Regions from separate parts of the Homo sapiens genome. Here all the other regions are linked to region 4. Evidence: promoter capture Hi-C in 16 types of primary human blood cells and fetal thymus (Javierre and others, 2016). All regions are on one chromosome and are shown on one strand. Each heading gives the region's core, a stretch centred on a gene start or on the middle of the fragment in contact. The rest is flanking DNA. Distances are from core to core; before and after follow the strand shown.

Evidence for each region. The method cuts DNA at HindIII sites, captures the fragments that hold promoters and counts their contacts. A CHiCAGO score of 5 or more calls a contact.
Region 1: a contact is called between a fragment that was not itself captured here and the fragment with the promoter of SS18 in region 4, in 8 of 17 cell types (non-activated CD4 T cells, activated CD4 T cells, naive CD8 T cells and 5 more). The highest score is 15.9, in non-activated CD4 T cells.
Region 2: a contact is called between a fragment that was not itself captured here and the fragment with the promoter of SS18 in region 4, in 2 of 17 cell types (non-activated CD4 T cells and activated CD4 T cells). The highest score is 5.8, in non-activated CD4 T cells.
Region 3: a contact is called between a fragment that was not itself captured here and the fragment with the promoter of SS18 in region 4, in 7 of 17 cell types (activated CD4 T cells, naive CD4 T cells, non-activated CD4 T cells and 4 more). The highest score is 15.4, in activated CD4 T cells.
Region 5: a contact is called between a fragment that was not itself captured here and the fragment with the promoter of SS18 in region 4, in 7 of 17 cell types (non-activated CD4 T cells, activated CD4 T cells, total CD8 T cells and 4 more). The highest score is 7.8, in non-activated CD4 T cells.

Annotation. Positions count from the first base shown.
Region 1 is chr18:26,181,673-26,184,372 of GRCh38, reverse strand. The region is part of intron 6 of PSMA8 (proteasome 20S subunit alpha 8); the gene reads right to left. Among named protein-coding and RNA genes, the nearest start is that of TAF4B, 43 kb to the left of the region's middle. The HindIII fragment of the contact is 2,788 bases long and covers 50-2,700 here.
Region 2 is chr18:26,001,721-26,004,420 of GRCh38, reverse strand. No RefSeq gene overlaps it. Among named protein-coding and RNA genes, the nearest start is that of SS18, 88 kb to the left of the region's middle. RefSeq lists an enhancer at 437-536. The HindIII fragment of the contact is 3,044 bases long and covers 1-2,700 here.
Region 3 is chr18:26,207,301-26,210,000 of GRCh38, reverse strand. No RefSeq gene overlaps it. Among named protein-coding and RNA genes, the nearest start is that of TAF4B, 18 kb to the left of the region's middle. RefSeq lists a silencer at 2,320-2,496. The HindIII fragment of the contact is 810 bases long and covers 899-1,708 here.
Region 4 is chr18:26,089,198-26,091,897 of GRCh38, reverse strand. SS18 (SS18 subunit of BAF chromatin remodeling complex) reads left to right here and starts at 1,285. Exons shown (of 11, transcript NM_001007559.3): 1 at 1,285-1,397. The coding sequence starts at 1,329. RefSeq lists an enhancer at 831-950. The HindIII fragment of the contact is 4,894 bases long and covers 1-2,700 here.
Region 5 is chr18:26,021,064-26,023,763 of GRCh38, reverse strand. All of the region lies in intron 10 of SS18 (SS18 subunit of BAF chromatin remodeling complex), which reads left to right. Among named protein-coding and RNA genes, the nearest start is that of SS18, 68 kb to the left of the region's middle. The HindIII fragment of the contact is 1,396 bases long and covers 691-2,086 here.

The DNA of each region.
Region 1 (2,700 bases), core at 194-2,693, 92 kb before region 4:
TACAGTGAAAGGTAAATTTTTTGTTTATAGTTGTAGAAAATGACAAGCTTTACATAACATTCTTTACGTTCTTTTTAAATTTTTCATCTAAGGTAAAAAGATACAGCTGCTTTAAGCCAGAATAAATGACTGAAACAGACTACATATTGATATTCTCTCTCTGTTTATGAATACACATACAGGCATACCTTGGAAAAATTGTGGATTTGGTTCAGGACCACAGCAGTAAGGCAAATATTGAGTCACATAAATGTTTTGGTTTCCCAGTGCATATTAAAGTTATGTTTACACTATACTGTAGTCTATTGAGTGTGCAATAGCCTTATGTCTAAAAAAATCAACATATCTTAATTTGAAAACACTTTATTGCTAAAAAATGCTAACAATCATGTAAGCCTCCAGCAAGTAGTAATCTTTTTGCTGGTGGGGTCTTGTCTTGATGATGGAGCTGACTCATCAGGGTAGTGGTTGCTGAAGGTTGAAGTGGCTGTGGGAATTTCTTAAAATAAGACAACAATGAGGTTTGCCACATTGATAGACTCTTCCTTTCCCAAAAGATTTCTCTATAGCATGAGATGCTGTTTGATAGCATTTTACTCACAATTGAACTTTTCAGAACTGGAGTCAATCCTCTCAAACCTTGTCACTGCTTTATTTATGTAACACTCTAAATGTTTTGTTGTTATTTCAACAATATTTACAGCATCATAACCAGGAGTAGATTTCATCCAAGAAACCACATTCTTTTCTCATCTTTAAGAAGCAACTCATCATCTGTTTTATCACAAGATTGCAGCAATTCAGTTGCATATTCAGGCTCCACTTCTAATTTTAGTTCTCTTGCTATTTGTACCACATCTGCAGTGACTTCCTCCACTAAAGTCTTGAACTCCTGAAAGTCATTCATAAGGGTTGGAATCAACTTATTCTAAACTCCTGTTAATGTTGATATTTTTGTTTGTTTGTTAATTTTTTTTTTTTTAGACGGAGTCTTGCTCTGTCACCCAGGCTGGACTGCAATGGTGCGATCTTGGCTCACGGCAACCTCTGCCTCCCAGGTTCAAGCGATTCTCCTGCCTTAGCCTCCTGAGTAGCTGGGATTACAGGTGCCCACCACCACGCCCAGCTAATTTTTGTATTTTCAGTAGAGACAGGGTTTCACCATATTGATCAGGCTGGTCTTAAACTCCTGACCTCAAGCAATCCACCCACCTTGGCCTCCCAAAGTGCTGGGATTACAAGCATGAGCCACCACGCCCGGCCTTTTTGTTTGTTTTTTTTGAGACAGAGTCTCGTTCTGCTGCCCTGTCTGGAGTGCGATAGCATGATCTTGGCTCATTGCAACCTCCAACTCCTGGGTTCAAGCAATTCTCCTGCCTCAGCCTCCTAAGTAGCTGGGATTACAGATTCCCCCCACCACACCCAGCTAATTTTTGTATTTGTGGTAGAGACGGGGTTTCACCATGTTGGCCAGGCTGGTCTTGAACTCCTGATCTCAAGTGATCCACCTGCCTCCGGCCTCCCAAAGTGCTGGGATTACAGGCATGAGCTACCGTGCCCAGCCAATGTTGGTAGAGACACAGTCTAACTATGTTGCCCAGGCTGATCTCAAACCTCTAGCCTCTAGCAATTCTTCTGCCTTGGCCTCCCAAAGTGTTGAGATTATAGGTGTGAGCCACTATGCCTGGCCATATTTCTTGAATAATAAGACTTGAAAGTCAAAATTACGCCTTGATGCATGTGCTGCAGAAAGATGTGTTAGCAGGCACGAAAACATTAATTTCCTTGTACATGTCCATCGGAGCTACTGGGTGACTAGGTGGACTGTGAATGAGCAGTAACATTTTGAAAGGAATCTTCTTTTTTTGAGTGTTAGGTCTCAGTAGTGGGCTTAAAATATTCAGTATACTATGCTATAAATAGATGTGCTGTCATCCATTGATTGTAAATGAGCACTGGCTTCTACTTAAAGTTACCAGCTGCATTATCCCCTAACAAGACAGTCCGTCCCTTGAAGCCAGGCAGTGAGGTGATTTCTCCTATCTCTAGCTATGAAAATTTTAGATGGTATCTTCTTCCAGCAGAAAGCTGTTTCATCTACATTGAAAATCTGTTGTTTAGTATAACCACCTTCACTGAAGATAAATGTCTTAGCTAGATCTTCTGGATAACTTGCTGCAGCTTCTCCATCAGTACTTGCTGCTTCACCTTGCACCTTTATGTTATGAAGGTGGCTTCTTTCCTTAAACCTCATGAACCAACCTCTGTTAGCTCCAGCCTTTTCTTCTTCCGCTTCCTCACCCCTCTCAGCCTTCACAGAATTGAAGAAAGTTAGGACTTTGCTCTGGATTAGGCTTTGGCTTAGAGGAATGTTGTGGCTGGTTTGATCTTCCAGCCAGGCCACTAAAACCTCCATATCAGTAACAAGACTGGTTTTTTTTTTTTTTTTCAGATGGCGTCTCACTCTGTTGCCCAGGCTGGAGTGCAGTGGTGCCATCTCAGCTCACTGCAACCTCCGCCTCTCAGGTTCAAGCGATTCTCCTGCCTCAGCCTGCCGAGTAGCTGGGATTACAGGTGCGTGCCACCACACGTGGCTAAATTTTGTATTTTTAGTAGAGACAGGTTTTGCCATGTTGGCCAGGTGCGTGCCACCACGCCTGGCCTGGCTGTTTCAGTTTCTTATCATTCACGTGTTCCCTT
Region 2 (2,700 bases), core at 113-2,612, 88 kb after region 4:
CCAGGGGAGTCATTGAAAGCTCCCCGAAGGCAGGGGTTTTGTTTTGTCTACTACTAGTCACTTGATGTCTAGAATGATGCCTAGAATAATGCCCAGTTATGTAATGGGAGTTCCATAAATATTGATTATTAGAAATGTTATTAATTAGGATATATAGAGACATTTAGGATTCATACATTGAAAATGAAGTAGTAAAATAGATGGATTAGAGGTAAAAGTTAGGGCTTTAACCTGAGTCCACAGTGCCTTAGCCAAAATTCCAAAATCCTGACCAGCCCTGAGGTCATTTGGCTATAAAACCTGGTCTGACCCATGGTGAGGTTATAGTCTCTTTATCTGATTCAGCGTCCCCTGGAGGTGCCATGTAATATACTGCCTATGCACACATCTGGCCCCACGAGGCTGGAGAGGAGATTGTGCACCTGTATAGATGTCTATACTTAAGCTGTATACTAGAAGGGTACGTTTCGTTTTGAGTAGGTCTGGAGTAGATGCTTGGTCATACCAGTGATTTATTAATGAATCATAGCATTGCAATAATTAAAATGATAAACATAGCTAACTGTCCCATTGCCCCTCAATTAAAAAAAAAAGTCTCCTTGGTGGAAGATATTTTGTGGGAATGCAGATGGAACGATGACATATATGACAACATTTTCTCTCTTTACTGTCTGTTTTCTGCTAGTCTGTGCCCAGAGCTAAACCATTAGAATCCGACTTGCTAGGAAAGCATGCACTATTTTGCTCTTTTACCAGTATAGACAACTATATGATACCTGTAACAATCTTACCATCATGAGCTTCCTTCTGCCTCTGTGCTTCACAATGTTCTCATAGCCTTGGCTCCATGCCAGTTCCACCTTAACAATGCTCCTTCTATTTCCCAGTGTTTCTCTATCCCTCTGTATAATCCTCCCTAAATAATCTGTGATATTCCAAATGGCTTTCCTTACTGCATAGTATTCACTCAACCGTGTTCTTTCAAGCCACTTGTTAAACCTGTTTTCTTTTTCATATTTTATGGCTTTGAAGAATTCTCAAGTTCCTCTGCTATAAAGTTTCCTTACAGTGGGAGTGATGGGCTTCTGGTCTGGCATGTGTAATTGTTAGTAATAATTTCTCCTCTTCTTTCCAAAAGAGATAGCAAGGGCTCCTTGATGTGAAGGATCTGTTGACTCATATTTGGGCTAATGGATCAATAAGGTTGCCACAATGGAGAAGGGACTTTGTATAAACATTCAGGCCTAAAAGAATAGCCACACTGCATTGAGTTTCATATTTGGGAACTCAGATCAAAAATTATCTTCAGAGAAAGAATACCTCCTAGTTGGAACTAAATCTGAGATCCATTGAGTTCACATTTTAGTATCTCTGAAATTGAGATTTGTTCTCTTTCTTTATAACATAAAATAATGATATGTCTTACTCTTATAATTGATAGTGCTTTAGACTAGAGGAAGAACAATGTAAGTGTTTTTAAAACCAAACCATATTATTTGCATTTTCAGTACAATCATTTTAATTTTCTTAATAAAGTTTCTTAGAGTCTATAATAACCTAAATAATAACCTATAATTTAAAAACTATATTAAAAAAATAAGTATAATATGTTATCTACTCTGTCTTTTGCTTAGTCATTTCCCCTATCATAGAATATTTGGCTTTTCTTCTGGAAATTCCTATCATCAGTATTGCTGAGGCGAACATCTTTGTATTTCTGTTTATCCTGAGAGGCAGTGCAGCAGAGTGATTAAGCACATAGAACCTGGAGTCAGACTGCCTGGGTTTGAGTCTTGCCTTTTTAGTTTCATCACTAACTAGTTTTGAAACCTTGGGCAACAATTGAAACTGTGCTGCAGTTGCTGTATCTCTAACTAGAGAGAATAGTATACTTAACTACCTCAGGGTTGTAAGGATTAAATGAGTTAATATATTACTCAAATTTCTCAATGTTATTGCATGTTAATACATTAGATATAGTAGTTCCTGGCATGTGGTAAGTGCTAAATAAGTAAATTACTGTTATTTGGGGTTATTTCTTTAGGATAGATTCCTAAAATGGGATTATCTTCTCAAAGTATATAAACATTTTCTGACACTCTGGATAAATACTGCCATATTTCTTTCCAATGAGATTATACTAATTTATACTCCTAGAATAGACTGAGTATATATTAATCCTCCTTTGTCAATTTTTAGCATTTTTATTTTTTAATTTTTAACTAGTAACATTTTTTTGGAGACAGGCCTTGCTCTGTCACTAGGCTGCAGTGCAGTGGCATGATCATAGTTCATGCAGCCTTCAACTCCTGGGGGCAAACGATCCTCCTGCCTCAGCCTCCGGAATAGCTAGGACTACAGGAGTGCACCACCACACCTGGCTAATTTTTAAAAATGTGTGTAGAGTTGGGGGTCTCCCTATGTTGCCTAGGCTGATCTTGAGATCCTGGCCGTAAGTGATCCTCTGGACTTTGCCCCCCAAAATATTGGGATTCCAGGTGTGAGCCATTGGGCCTGGCTTAGCATTTTTTAAAAGTAAGTCTTCGTTAATCTCACAGATAAAAATGGTAGTTTATTCTAATATTTATTTCTTTGGTTATTAGTATGAGTTGAATTGAATATTTTCTATGTGTTAGCCATTTGTATTTCCTTATTTGTTCATGTCTGCCTATTTATCTGTTGCTTACTGGTTTTAAATGG
Region 3 (2,700 bases), core at 54-2,553, 120 kb before region 4:
AATGAGTCGTGAATGCGCCACTGCACTGCAGCCTGGACAACAAAGCAAGACTCTGTCTCAAAATAATAATAATAGGCCAGGCACAGTGGCTCACGCCTGTAATTCCAGCACTTTGGGAGGCCGAGGTGGGCGGATCATGAGGTCAGGAGATCAAGACCACGGTGAAACCCCGTCTCTACTAAAAATACAAAAAAAAAGTAGCCGGGCACGGTGGCAGGTGCTGTAGTCCCAGCTACTCAGGAGACTGAGGCCAGAGAATGGCGTGAACCCAGAAGGCGGAGCTTGCAGCGAGCCGAGATCGCGCCACTGCACTCCACTCCAACCTGGGGGTCAGAGCAAGACTCTGTCTCAAAATAATAATAATAATAATAATAATAATAATAATAATAATAATAATAATGATGATGAAACTAACCATCACATGTCATTGCCTTAACGTTCTAATGCTCCAGCAATATAAACCACTATTGCCTTTATACCATCAGTAGAAATGTAATGCCACATACTGTTTTTTCCACATAGTGAAAAAAGCAAACATCTTAGTATTGTATGAAAATAATTAAGACCCTCATGTACTTCATGAAATGGACTCAGATACCTGGGGGTAGACAGACCACATTTTGATAACCTCTACAGTAAAGAAAACTGCTTTACTTTGTTTGTTTTGTTTTTTGAGACAAGGTCTCACTCTGTGGACCAGGCTGGGTGACTTAGTGCAGCCTGGAACTCTTGGGCTCAAGCCACCTTCCCACTTTAGCCTTTAGAGTAGCTGGAACTAGAGGCGTGAGCTACCACACCCAGCCTGCTTTACTTTCTTTAAGACAATGTTTCACAAATTTCGCCAACCAGGAACATTTGATCAAATGACATTGCACAAGAAGTTTTAGGAAGATAAGCTTTGGGAAACTGCTGAGGCTGCTCCTTTGCCAAATAGCATACATTTTCCCACCAAAGCCAGTTTGTTTTGTTTGTTTTTTGAGACAGAGTCTCACTCTATTACCCAGGCTGGAGTGCAGTGGCATGATCTCAGTGCACTGCAACTTCCGTCTCCTGGGTTCAAGTGATTTGTCTACCTCAGCCTCCCAGGTAGCTGGGATTACAGGTGTGTGCCACCTCGCCCAGATAATCTTTGTATTTTAGTAGAGATGGGGTTTTGCCATGTTGGCCAGGCTGGTCTCCAACTCCTGACCTCAGGTGATCTGCCTGCCTTGGCCTCCCCAAGTGCTGAGATTACAAGCGTGAGCCACTGCGCCTGGCCAAAAAGACAGTTCTTAATAAGGATAACCTTTTTTTTTTTTTGAGACAGAGTAGTTTCACTCCTGTCACCCAGGCTGGAGTGCAATGGCACATTCTCAGCTAACTGCAACCTCCGATCCCCAGGTTCAAGCGATTCTCTTGCCTCAGCCTCCTGAGTAGCTGGGATTACAGGCTCGCCCCACCATGCCCAGCTGTTTTTTGTATTTTTAGTAGAGACAGGGTTTCTTCATGTTGGCTGGGCTGGTCTCGAATGCCTGACCTCAGGTGATCCACCCGCCTCAACCTCCCAAAGTGTTGGGATTACAGGCATGAACCACTGGGCCCGGCCAGGACAACCTTTTTAATGAGCTGCACACCTTTCCTGTCAAAAAGAATAATCCATCCCCACTCCCTTCTTTTTCTTCAGGGAGTGAATAACACTCCCTGCCTAACACTTAATCAAGTTAAAGCTTGCTTTTTCAGTAATCATTCACTGAGGCCCCGACTCTAAGATTACAGATCTGAGCGTGAGATGCTCACAATCTAACAGGAGATACAAATATGATAGGATTACTAGACAATGTGACACAGGTTACAACAAAGAGGTCAGGCCTCTAACTGAGCCTGAGAATAGGCACCTTGGAGGAGGATTATTGTGGTGAGTCATGAGACATTTCCACAGTCTGCTTCATAAAAAGGAAGAGAAAAAGAAGTCTTTTCAGGGTCAGGCATGGTGGCTCACTCCTGTAATCCCAGCACTTTGGGAGGCCAAGGCAGGAGGATCACCTGAGTCCAGGAGCTTGAGACGAGCCTGGGCAACATAGTGAAAACTTGTCTCTACAGAAAATAAACGAAATTAGCTGGGTGTGTGGTGCATGCCTGTAGTCCTAGTTATTTGAGAGGCTGAAGTGGGAGGATTGCTTGAGCCCAGGAGTTTGAGGTTGCAGTGATGTGTGATCGTGCCACTGCATTCCAACATGGGTGACATAGTGAGAACTTGTCTCAAAAAAAAAAAAAGTATTTTCAATGAGAGAAGCATGTGTGTGTTACACAAGTAAGTCATGATGCCTGCTCCATCCACAGTCCCTTGCAAAAGAACCGTTTTAGTGACACAAAGGACATCCCCAGCTGGGACCACTTGACCCTATACTGCTGTCACTGCTGTCTGGACAAACAATAGGATGCAGTCCCAAGGACAGCCAATCCTTTGACTGACCACAGTGACCCTGATACAAAAAATATCAGCCGGTCTAAGCACATTTACTCTTTGTAGAATTGGAACTGGAGACTTTGGAAAGAGGAGGAGAGTTAACTATGAAAGGTTGGCTGGGCTTAGTGGCTCACACCTGTAATCTCAGCAATTTGGGAGGCCGAGGTGGGTGGATCACCTGAGGTCAAGAGTTCCAGACCAGCCTGTCTAACAAGGTGAAACCCTGTCTCTACTAAGAATACAAAAGAACCAGC
Region 4 (2,700 bases), core at 36-2,535:
CACCACCATACCCAGCCAATTTTTAAAATTCTTGTAGAGACAGAGGTCTCACTTTGTTGCCCAGGCTGGTCTCAAACTCCTGGCCTCAAGTGATTAAATTTTTAAAATAATGTATTTTTTCTTTATTTTTCCAATTTATATAAAAATGGAAATATTTTTTATTATTCATTAACGTTGGGTAACACTTTATATAAACTTTCCCTTTGTGTTATATGGAAGTCTAAATTTACAGAATACTTTAAAACCCCACGGCAACACAAAACCCACATTTGTCCGTGTTCCTTCCATAATTTGAAAACTTTGCCTTTTTCCCTTACACTGACTTGAAGCCTGGCAGCTTGGGCCTAATTTACAAGGCACTAAGTAAGTACTCTCTTAAAAAACAGAGAGTGAGGATGCCCTGTTTCACAACTTAATTCCAAAAAGCCAAGTCAGACGAAATCGACCCACTTTCCTGCTAAGGGTTTGTCCCAAGAGGCGAGCTCTTCTCTGTCCGCTCCAGCCAAGCTGGCCGATTGCCCCTGAGCACTGGACACAACCTTGGTGTCCCGGTTTCGGGTCAGGGTTACTTTCCAATTGTTAGGCACGACTTTGTGCGTGCGTGCGAGACTGTGGACTCGGAGGTGCGCATTTGGGGCGTAGCCGAGCCATTTAAACCAGCGAATCCGCGTTCACCTTGTCCTTCCACCTCTGCCCTATCTCGGCAGATGCTCCACGGATTTGCACGAACTCCCGAGTCTTGACCTCCCTCCCCTCTCCGGGCTGCCGGGACAACTCGGGGCGGCCACTCTTGCCAGGAGGCGTAAGTAAGGATGAAGTTGGAAAAACTGAACTAGGTCTAGGGCACGCTCTGCAACACAGTCGGGGAGACGCTTCAGAGGGCCGGAGAGGGAGGCAAGTTGCCACGGCGCGAAGGGGGCGGGCCGGCTTGGGCCGCTCGCATTTCCTGTGACAGGGGCTGCCCCAGCCTCTCCTTCTCCCGCGGCGGCGGGACCATTTCCTGAATCGCTGAAGCGGAGGGAGGACTAGGGCGCGACTCTACCATTAGCGCAAAGGGCCAGGGGGTGCCCATAAGGAGAGCTCGGGGGATGCAGGGACGGTCAAGAAAGTTCGGCCAGGGCTAGGGGTCCCCCAGAGTGCGCAGAAGCGAGACATCCCTGGCCAGAGTGCCTCCTTCAGGCCTGCCCCGCCGCCCGTCCGCTTGGCCCCGGAGCATCCCCCCTCCCCGCATTCCCGAGGTGGTTCAGCCCGAGAGGCCGGCGTCTCTCCCCCAGTTTGCCGTTCACCCGGAGCGCTCGGGACTTGCCGATAGTGGTGACGGCGGCAACATGTCTGTGGCTTTCGCGGCCCCGAGGCAGCGAGGCAAGGGGGAGATCACTCCCGCTGCGATTCAGAAGGTGAAACCGCGCGGGGTTGCGGATGCCAGGCCCTTACCGCCTCTGGGAGAGACAGACGCGGGGGGAAGGGCCGGGCCCGGAGTCGACCGGGCCGAGGCGGAGGCGGGCCTGCTGGGAATCAGCAGTGTTTGGGAACACGGACTGCTGGCTGTGCCTGAGTGGGTGGCGGAAGAGGGTGAACCGGTTTTTCTCGGAGTCTTTCACGCATTTACGCGTTTTTCTACAGACACAAAAGCCCAAACAGCCGCCGCCTGATTTCTCTAGGGATGGGGCGGCGTTCGGGCTGCGGGGCGCGTGCGCCCGGCGGCGGCCGCTCAGGGAAGGGCGTGTGTCGGACCGGCGGCCCCGCGCGTTGCTCCGGAGTTACTTTGGCGTCGCCCCGCCCCGCGTGCCGCGGCTGCTTCGTGCGGACCCCACCGCGGGTCGCGGCAGGCAGAGGGGAAGTCGGTGCGCTGGTCGCCGCCCTGCAAACTCAGCCGAGTTTGGGAGCTCGCAGGAGGACTTGGGGAACGCTGGAGGGAACCTTAGTATAGAGTTTGAGGAGCGGGCAAGGAAGGTCCCCATGGACTCTGGGGTTGTCCCCAGAGCCTCTTCTTCCCTTCTGCATCGCCGCCTATTCATTTATTCTGCAGCAAATATTTATTGAGCGCCTATTTTAGGCGCTGAGGCTACTGTGGTGAGTCATGGTCCTTGCCTTCCTGGAGCTTACAGTCTAATGGTGGAGACTGTCGTGACCAGTTAATGTAAGTCGTGATAAATACACAGGGAGCTGCCTCCTTTTTAAAGGATAGAGCTGCTGCAGTCGCTGCTGTGTTACTGCCAGTCGGAACACAAAGGTTCTTTATTGTCCTCTACCCCTTGTTGCCTGCAAGCAAGGCAGCATTCTAAATTTTACTGACCTAGACTTTCAGAAGTTGCTGCTGTATTTAGCAGTTTACTTTAAATATTTTTGTTTTGTTTTATGCTGTGTAGCAAAGATCAAAATAGAAAAAAAGGTCAAGTTTTAGTACCACTCAGACCACGTAGATTATGCTAATCGGTTTCTGTTTACTGTCAGGTTCTTCGTAGTGTGGCTTTTGACATTTGCCCAACTGTTGCTTTATTTTATGAACAAACGGGCTTGGCAGTGCCTGGAAATGCAGTGCTTTCATATAGTGCTCTGAGTTAAGTCTGCAGCCTGGCAAACAGCTCCAAGTACGCACTCACGCAAAACTGCGTTTCTGGAGGGCTCACCTTTTTTATTTTTGTACACAGGAAAAGTCCAGAGTTTTTCTTTTTTTTTTATAGTTTCTGTTACATAAGT
Region 5 (2,700 bases), core at 139-2,638, 68 kb after region 4:
TCATTTTTGTTTGCCTGAAGGATGTTAACATTTCTTGAAATGCAGGTGTACTGGTAATAATCAGCTTTTGTATGTCTGAAAAAAATGTTTATTTTGCCTTTATTTTTGAAAGATATTTTCTCTGGGTATAGAATTCTAGGTGGACAGTTTGTTTTTGTTTTCTTTCCATACTTTAAAGATGCTCCACTCTTTTCTTCCTTACATTGTTTCCAAGGAGACATTTGCTGTCATTTATCTTTGTTCTTTTGTAGTTAATATGTCTTTTTTCTCTGTTTTTAAGATTTTCCCTTTATCAAATTGTTTGATTGAAGAAATTTCTCTCTTGCCCAAATTGTTTTGAGCAATTTGATGAGAGCATGCATTGGTGTTGATTTCTTCATGTTTCTTATGCTTGGAGTTTGTTGAGTGTTATCTCAGACTTTGTCATTTTCATCTCTACAAGTTTGGTTTAGGTCTTTTTAATATCTTCCGTGTCTGTCCTTAATTGTTTTGAACATATGGAATACAAATATAATTCTTTTAATATCCTCTTCTGCCAACTCTAATAATCTATGTCATTTTAGGGTCAGTTTTAATCAGTTTTTTTTCTCTGTCCTTTGTGTGCGTGATAATCTTTGATTGGATTCCAGACATTGTGAATTTTATGTTGGGTGATGAAGATATATGTATACCTAGAGATATTCTTAAGCTTTGCTTTGGGATTCAGTTTAATAAGTTACAAACAGTTTGAACTTTCTGAAATTGCTTTTAAGATATTCTAGGCAGGACAAAGAGCAGTGTTTAGTCCTGGGCTAAATACTCATCACTGATAAGGTAAGAGCCTTTTGGGTGTTTTGCCCAATGCCCTTTGAATTGTAAGGCTTTTTACTCTGACTGGTGGGAATAAGCACTGATTCTGTTCCTATGTGACAAACAAGTATTGTTTCCCCTAATCCTTTTGGGTGTTTCTTGCCTCAGCCCTGGGTATTTTCCTCACACATTTGCATATCTGTACTATGCTGAATAGGAGGAGGGTTCCTCTGCACATCTCCACAGTTGTCTCTTTAGGCAGATCTTTCTTGTAGGGTACTCTGTCCTGTTAACTCTAGCTACCTTTTTCTCTCCAGACTCTAAGCCTTATCTCCTTAAGTCAGAACATCTGGCAGACTCAGCCTCAGTTCCCCTTCGTGCACTGCAGACTGGAAACTCTCAAGGTAGTTAGCTGTGGTAGTCAGAGGGCTGGCCTCATTTGTTTACCATGTCTCAGGGATCATTGTCCTTTGTTGGCTCTGTCCTGTGTGTCCTGAATATGATTATCATATGCTTTGTGTAGTTTTTTTTTTTTTTATTGTTTCAGGCTGCCAGATAAATCCATCTTGAATAGAAACATGCATTAATTTTTCAACATAACATTTCTCTTCATTTGACAGATTATTTTGTTACTGTTTATTGTCATATTCTTCTTCCCCAAGAATGTAACCTCTTTAAAAGCATCGCTTTGTCTGTTTTTATTACTGTTGAGTCTCTGTCACCTAGTAGAGCACAGCACATAATCAGTAAATATTGGTGAATAAAGTATAAACAACTGAGTAAATAAGGCCACTACTTTCTAGATTTGAATGCGTGATCACAAGACCAGAGTTAAGAGGAAACCCCTAAAATGTTGTGAAGGAATAATGTTAAGATTTTAAACTGATTAGGTAAATAGAATGAAGGAAAGAAATGTAAAGATTTTGGTATTGCTCAGATTTCTACCTTAGGAACTCTTCTCATTCAATATACTCTCCCTAGGCATTCTCATTTATTCACAAGGTCTCAGTTCACCATGCTGTTGACTCCCAAATCTCTATTTATAGTCTCAATCTCTCTTCTGGAAATTAGATGCCTACTCGACAGCTCTGCTTAGATGTATCATAGGTATTAATTCAGCAGAAACAAAATAAATTTATAATTTTTTCTACCAAAACTTTTCTGTGTTCTTTATCAAAGAGAGGGGTACTATCACCAAGCTAGATTGCCAAGTGCCTGTTTGGTATTTAAGTGTCCCTGCTTTTCCTCCCTTGTCTAATAAATGACAAATGTTATTGATCTTCCTTTTTGAAAAGCTTTTGAACCCATTCATTTCTTTCTAACCTACACCCTTATCTTAGTTTAGACCATGTTCATCTCCTGTCTTCATCGCAGTAGGATCTTCCATACTGTCTTCTTTCCCATTAAAATTCTTTATACTGTAGTCAGAGGAATTTTTTTTAAAAATTGAAGAGCAAAGAGAGAGAAGGTGAGGCTTAGAGTGTTCAAGTGATTTACTCAAGATGACAGAATTCAGGAGTGGTGAAGCTGCATGACTACTGCTGAGTGCTGAAAGCCCATGCTCTGTTCACTGTACCATGCTGCCACCCATACTGTTAATGAGTACTTGAGTAGTTCACAGAGCATTTTCATGTTTTTCTTCTTGAATAACTTTTTAAAATAGAGATTATAATTACCCTTGTCAGATGATAAAATTGAAACTCAGGGAGGTTAAGCAACTTGCCCAAGGATAAGAAGCTGTTAAGTGGTGACGTTAGCACTAGAAATTGGTTTCTGGCTCCAAAAGCCGTACTTTTAATCCTTAATGCCACCTTGGAATTTGTTAATGGTTGCAGATACACAGCCTACCTTTTTAGGCATGATTGTGGTTTTGTTTGGTCCTAGCATTGTGATCAAGTATGGGCCAAGTTA